2 separate regions of the Homo sapiens genome follow, and region 2 is linked to region 1. The links are contacts of gene promoters, found by promoter capture Hi-C in human tissues and cell types (Jung and others, 2019). All regions are on one chromosome and are shown on one strand. The core of a region is centred on a gene start or on the middle of the fragment in contact, and the rest is flanking DNA. Distances in the headings are between cores, read along the strand shown.

Evidence for each region. Contacts are between HindIII fragments. The study calls those that stand out against the background at their distance.
Region 2: a fragment that was not itself captured here is called in contact with the fragment with the promoter of PRB4 in region 1 in 2 of the 25 tissues and cell types used here (adrenal gland and pancreas).

What each region holds. Positions count from the first base shown.
Region 1 is chr12:11,308,910-11,312,262 of GRCh38, reverse strand. PRB4 (proline rich protein BstNI subfamily 4) reads left to right here and starts at 1,827. Exons shown (of 4, transcript NM_002723.6): 1 at 1,827-1,928; 2 at 2,858-2,893. The coding sequence starts at 1,865. The HindIII fragment of the contact is 9,974 bases long and covers 1-3,353 here.
Region 2 is chr12:11,373,357-11,376,709 of GRCh38, reverse strand. No RefSeq gene overlaps it. Among named protein-coding and RNA genes, the nearest start is that of PRB2, 21 kb to the left of the region's middle. The HindIII fragment of the contact is 3,954 bases long and covers 1-3,353 here.

The sequences.
Region 1 (3,353 bases), core at 578-3,077:
TGGTGACAATATCAGGCAATGTCAGCCTGGCCTCTGCTGCTCCTTTTCTCTGACATTCCTTTGTTACCTGATGGTCTAACTTAAGCCACCTAAGCAGGATTGCTCATCTCCAGTTGTATTCCCATTTCAAGTACGTGTATATTTTTGTCAGGGAAAATACCAATCTTCGTGGTTCCCTTGCAAGGGCAAAGTTATCTGTAGCAAAGCCTTTTTTATTAGGAAGTCTGCTTGTACTATTACCTGCAACTCTTCAGAAGGGCCACCCAGATTCTCATCTGCAAAGCCCAGGATCTACTCATCCACAATGTTCAAGAGGCCTGTCTTTAGGATTTACTGTCACATACCCTCTCTACCTCCATCATACCTCCAACCAAGGTGTTCTCAAATTAATACCAGCCATGCACAAAATGTGAACAATTACACAAGACACATGGAAGGTCTAAGTGGTAAATGGCAGCTGTTGATACTGAGTAACCTGTATATTCCATGAACTGATAAGCAGGTATTTATCAGATATAACGAAGAATCAGTAGCTGAAAGAAGTGCTAACAATGCAGGTCTCTGATAGGGCTTTTTGGAAACACAACACGTATTATGAAATTACACAGACAAGAATGAAACAAAGATGGTAAGTACTATATCCTAATACTTAGAAGATTAAATAAAGGAAATCTCACCAAATTCATGGGGAAAAAAGCCAGATACATAAAGAAAAATACACATAATGGGCTTGACTCAGAAAATAAAATATGAACAAAGAAGAACCAGAAAGAAGGTGGGGAGGAATGCATATCAGAATATTATAGAAAAATACTCTTTGTGGAAGAACAATCTGAGAAAACAGGTAACACAAATACTGACTAAACCAAGAATACCAATATAATGCAATTTAGGCTTTAACGAGGGTATCTGATTATCCTATTTGAATGTAGAATTGTAGCCACTTAATTATAAGTGGTAGGAATTCAATACAATTATTAAAAGAAATGAAGCAGAGGGTGAATATTATAGAATATTCTGGACAAAGGGAAGAGCATGAAGGAAGTTTTGGCAACATGATATCGCATGGCTCCCGCAAGGAATTATGTATTCAGTTTTCTCAGATCTAGAAATTTCCTTATGGTTTCTGTGTACATTTTGCATTAATAACCCCTAAAGGTACTTTAAAATACACAATTTTGGCCTTCCTGTGTGGCACAACAACAAGCCTTGCCTGAGCTGAGTCAGATCCACAGAAGCTTGAACAATAGTTGTAGCCCGAGCAGGCTGTGGGGCAGCTTTCTGTCATCTATGTGTGCCCAGGAGTGTGTTGTCTTCACACCATCACACAGGTAACAGAAACCATCTCTATCGCATCAAAACTTTAGCCAATTGTGATACTATCTGTACACACACATCACAAGAGATGGAAATAGGCTCTATAAAGAGCCAGAGAAATTGACCATCTTCACTGCTGGCTGTAGCTTCACTGCCCCCACAAATATTACACAGAAATAAATAGTAGAGTGGAAAGCAGACATAGTCTTACCAAAAGGATTGAAACTCTAATGATGTCTGAAGTTCAATTATGACACAGTGCTGATAGCTTGGACACAGTTCCTTTAGAACCTTTATTCAAGTCATAGTCGTACCTTTTAGAAATAAGGCACAAACAACATCCAACCCACCCCATCCCTCTGGGCTAGAGTCCCAAAGAGAAATAAGGGATACACCTGACCTGCAGTAAGGAAAGCAGAACCCAGTCTCTGAGGTGGTGAGGCCCACCCAGGGCTCAAAGGTGCCATTGTTTTGCTCCTCTTTATAAAGGGAGTTGCCACGTTCCTCCCAGCACAGAGTTGGGAGTGACTCCAGAGCCTCCAGCGAGATGCTGCTGATTCTGCTGTCAGTGGCCCTGCTGGCCCTGAGCTCAGCTGAGAGTTCAAGTGAAGGTAAAACAGAAGGGGGAAAAGATGCGGTGACTGCTTGGGACTTAGGAGGTGACAGTGGTAATTATGGGGAAGAGAGGAGAATGAAAACACAGATGGGGCTGCAGAGTTTTCATGCCTAGGATCAGGAGACCTGTTGTGCCCTCATTCCACAATAAGGACTTCTAATTTATTTAATGTACAATGAAATCCAATAACGAATTTGTTCCAGGGGAATGAGAAGGTAAGATTTGAATTTATAGAGATAGAACTGTGCTGTGAAGGCTGCAGTGGAGAGTGCAAGGCAGATTCAGGGAAGTCCAGCTGTGAAGATCCTATACTGATCCCAGTAAGTACACAGGGATGATGGTGGCCTTGCTGTACAGACAGTCGGCATTGATGATAGAGATACATACACATCAGAGATACTGCAGAGACAGAACTGGATAGAACACTTGTCTCTGTCTAACTAAAGATGTAGAAATATCAGAGCCAATCATTACAATTTTTCTCTCCCCTACATGCAGTATTTCAATGTGCTGGGAGTGGAATGGGTTAGATTGTATTGAAATGATTACTTCTGGTTACCCCTATTGAGAAAACATGTGTATGTATGCAATATATTAACAGGAGATGGAGGGCATAAGAACACCAAAATATCACATTGAAGTACCTGGCATGCATAAACTAAATAAGCATTAAGTCTTGAGGGATGCTAGGGAGGAAAAAAAGGGGCTGTTCTATGTTGAACTCATTGCTGTTGCTCTGTGTGGTAACAACCCTGCCTCCTCTTACACCTTCCACCCCTTCCAGCACCTTCACAGATGGTGGCTGATGAGTTAACCTAGGGGATGCATGGGGTGTGGTGAGAAGACAATTTTCCCTGTAGAACACTTGTGAGTCTTGAAGATTTGAGATGTAACATTTCCCATCATCCTGTGCTTCTCTTCTAGATGTCAGCCAGGAAGAATCTCTCTTCCTAATATCAGGTAAATCCCAATTCATTCTCAATCTGTTTTGACTCCCTTTTTCTGCTTACAAATGGATCATTTCTCCAGTGTCTTCTTATCAACACTTTCCTTTCAGGAATTGATTAATGTTATTGCCCCTAATGATATAGGCAATCTTCATGCAAACTTGATTCTGGGGACCATGAGCAGGCCACCAAATGGAATGTCAGAGATGCTTGGCTTAGATGACAACAGGAGTGGGTTGACATCCCCCTGGCCAGGAGTGCCTCCTGGGAGATGACAGACAAATGGCCAGTGTCCTTATTCTGACTCCTCCTTAGACTGAGAGCCCCTCAACTTCTCCCTTTTCCCCCAGCGTTCCACTCCAGAGTTCTAGGGCTTCACTGAAAATGCAAAGAAATTAGTATCTGGGTCTCATTTTTGTGCATTTCCCCATTTAGCTCCATTACTGTAAAAATTTGTGGCAACTATTCAGTGA
Region 2 (3,353 bases), core at 443-2,942, 65 kb before region 1:
AACCTGCATTTTCCATAAAAAGATGAAATGATGGGCAGAAACTACTTGATATAACAGAGAAGTCAGTGGATGAAAAGAGAGCTACCAACACAAACTCAGTAAAAATACTTTGGAAATACAGTATATTGATCCAAATTTTAAAAACAAACATAAAATGAAAGGAGTAAGAAGAATTATAGATGCTTACTTAGAAGAGTCGATTTAAGAAAATTCCCAAAATGTATTTATAAAGAAGCCAGACATAAGATGAAAAATAAACACAGGGAAGATTATTTAGAACAGAAAATGTCAACAAATACATTTTAGAAAGCGAGTCTTGAGAAATTAGTTTCAGAATATTGCAAAAATAAAAAAAATTTCTGTTTGGAAGAAGAATCTGGGAGACAGCACATGTACTAAGAAATAGATCAGTGCAATACCCTTGAGGCTTTTATGTGGGTTCCTGACTATCTTATTGGGATATATAATTGTGGCCACTCATTGTAAGTGGGAGTGATTAAAAATTTTTCCTAGAAGAATAACTGAATGTAGTGACTCATGTCTGTTATCCCAGGACTTTGGGAGGGTGAGTTGGATGGATCCCTTGAGGCCAGGAGTTTAAGACCAGCCTGAGCAACAAATTGTGGATCCATCTCTTCAAAAAATTTTTAAATAAATTAAAAAATAATAAACGGGCATGGTGGGTGTCATGAACCTGTAATTCAAGCTACTCAAGTGGTTGAAGTGGGGGGAATCCCAAGAGCACAGGAGTTCTAGGATGCTGGAATCCATGATCAGGACACCACCCTCCAGCTTGGGTGACAGAGCGAGAGCCTATATTTATATATATATAATCTTGTAAGACATAAAGTCCAAACTGTATCTGATCAAACATTCTAATAAAGGGGAAGAGCAAGAAAAAATTCTTAAAGACATGAAGTAGGATGGCTCATTCAAGAACTTCTATTCATTCTGTTCATTTCTAGAAACCTCTGGTAGATTTTGTGTCCAACTTTGTTTTAACCTCTCCACGAATATTAATAATAGAATTCGTTAAGACACCTGTATCCTAAAACACCGAGACTTTTCTGATCGGAGCCAGATCCAAGGAATATTGGACAATCTGTGTGGGTCCGACCGGGCTGAGGGCCAACCTTCTGTCAGCCATGAATGGCCAGGTTTGTGTTGTCTGCACATAGCTCAAAGTTCTAAAGACATAACCTCTATATAATCAAATATTTAGCGAAATATGATAGGCATAGGTATACAAAACTCCACAGCCAACCTACCTCTTGTTCCTTAGAATATGATTGTGTTCAGAAAATAGCCCTAAGAAGAGGTGATCAAGCTAAAATGAGGGAGTTTCAGTGGAACTAAATCCAATAAGATGAATGTCCTTAGAAAAAGTGGAAATTCCTTATAAGAACTGGAAATTTGCACACAGAGAGACACAAGAAGTACGTAGGCACAGACGCAGCCCCATGGGAGGACACAGCAAGAAGGTGATATCTAGATGCCAAGTAGACAGGGCCAAGAAGAACTGGACCTGCTGACACATTCACCGTGGAACTTGAGCATCCAGAAGTGTCGGAAAATAATTTCTGTTGCTTAAGAATATTAGTCTGTGATATTTTGCTTGGACAGGTATAATGAAGAAATTCAGGGGAGAGCAGGTTTTAGGAGGCAGAAATTAAGAGTCCTGCTTAGTGCAGGAGTGTAATGTAAACGGTATGGTTACATTATTTTAAATGGCAAGTGGATTGCTGACGTCCTTGACTCATGGACAAATGCCTAAGCTTTTGTTGCCATCTTGCTCCTTGCTTTTACCCCATCCTAAATCAGTGACACTGTCTCCATCAGTTCTTTGGTAACCTCTATTTTGCTTGTCTCTGGTAGCTTGATATCTGATATTTAGTCCTTCCTGATATGCTAATCTCTTTCACTCATTTCTGACATAGGAGAAGGTCAGGGCATGAGTTGAGTGATATTTGGAAGGATCACCTCTTGCCTTGCTGTACTCAGCAGACAAGGAGAAGTCTGTCTCTAACCAGGACTGCAGCTTCCCCACTGATTCCCACAAGGAGTCACATCTGCCTGGCTCTCCCCTCTGCTTCTTCTCTCTTGCGTTTCTTTCCTTCCTGATGGGCCACCATAAGCTACCTAGGCCAGACTGCCCATCAACAGCTTCCTTTTCAAACAATGTTTGGTGAAACCAGAGAAAATCATTCAATAACATCAGGACACCAGATTGGCCCAAGCACTCTGTGTCTCTCTGAAAGAATGTGAATCTCAGTTACAAATGTTAAACTTTCTATGTAACTGGAGAATATTTGGCCACTGGTATTATATTCCATCTTCAGAAAACATCCCTATTTATCCTAAGAGAAAAACAAGACAGCAATCTGCCTAGTCAGCTGCAAAATTCTAAGTTACCTCTAGTAGAGCTTATTGTATCAGGATGCCTTCCTATATGCAGTGGGTTGTTCAAATGTTGAAGGAAAAGGTATATCCTATTAAGAAACACCATGAATGGATTCCAATGTTTTGGCACCAAAATGAAATCATAATCTTTTGCTATAACATGTCTGAACAGGAGCTAGTATGAGGCATCAAGAAAAATAAGAGCAGTTTCAAAAGAGCCCCTAGAAGACCAACATGAATTTTTCTAAAATTAAAGTGAGTATAAACATCAAATTTATGGTGAAGCTTGGGTGGAGGAAGGCAAAATCATTGATGGTGTCCAAAGAGTTGTCCTACTTGACACGTGGTAAGTTGACATTGGTTGAAGAAGTCAGCAGTTCACAAATTCAATGAGGAGTTCATTTCAAGAAGGAATGAGGCAATGTTGAACCTAAAGCTTATCGTGACAGATGATTCACATCATATTGCAAGGAATAAATTCATCTTCTTTATACCCAGGAGAAGAGGTGTGATGATTAGCAGCTCACACAATAACCAACACTGCAGACTTCTCAGTTGGTTCAGTTTACATGAATCTAACTGAATGATTAAAGTTTAGTAAGCTTTTCACTTAATGGATGCCCAAACTGTGTCACCAAGATCAAGTACAGACAAGAGCAGAACTTTCCCTAAAAATTTAAATAGGAAGAACGAAGACCATAAGCATTTCTTCAATGAATTATAAGAGGAGATAACACATGACTTTACCAGTAAAATCCAGAAAACAAATACAATCAAAGCAATGGCTACCAAGAGGCGGAAATGTCCAGTCAAAACAAAAGTGGATGAGGAGAGCACAAAGATCTTGGCAAGAGTTTATTGGAAAGCTCAAGTCATTTTGCTGGTTGACTTTCTGGAGAATGACAGTATCTCCTTATTCTGAGAATATTTTGAGAAAGTCAAAGCTTTACTAG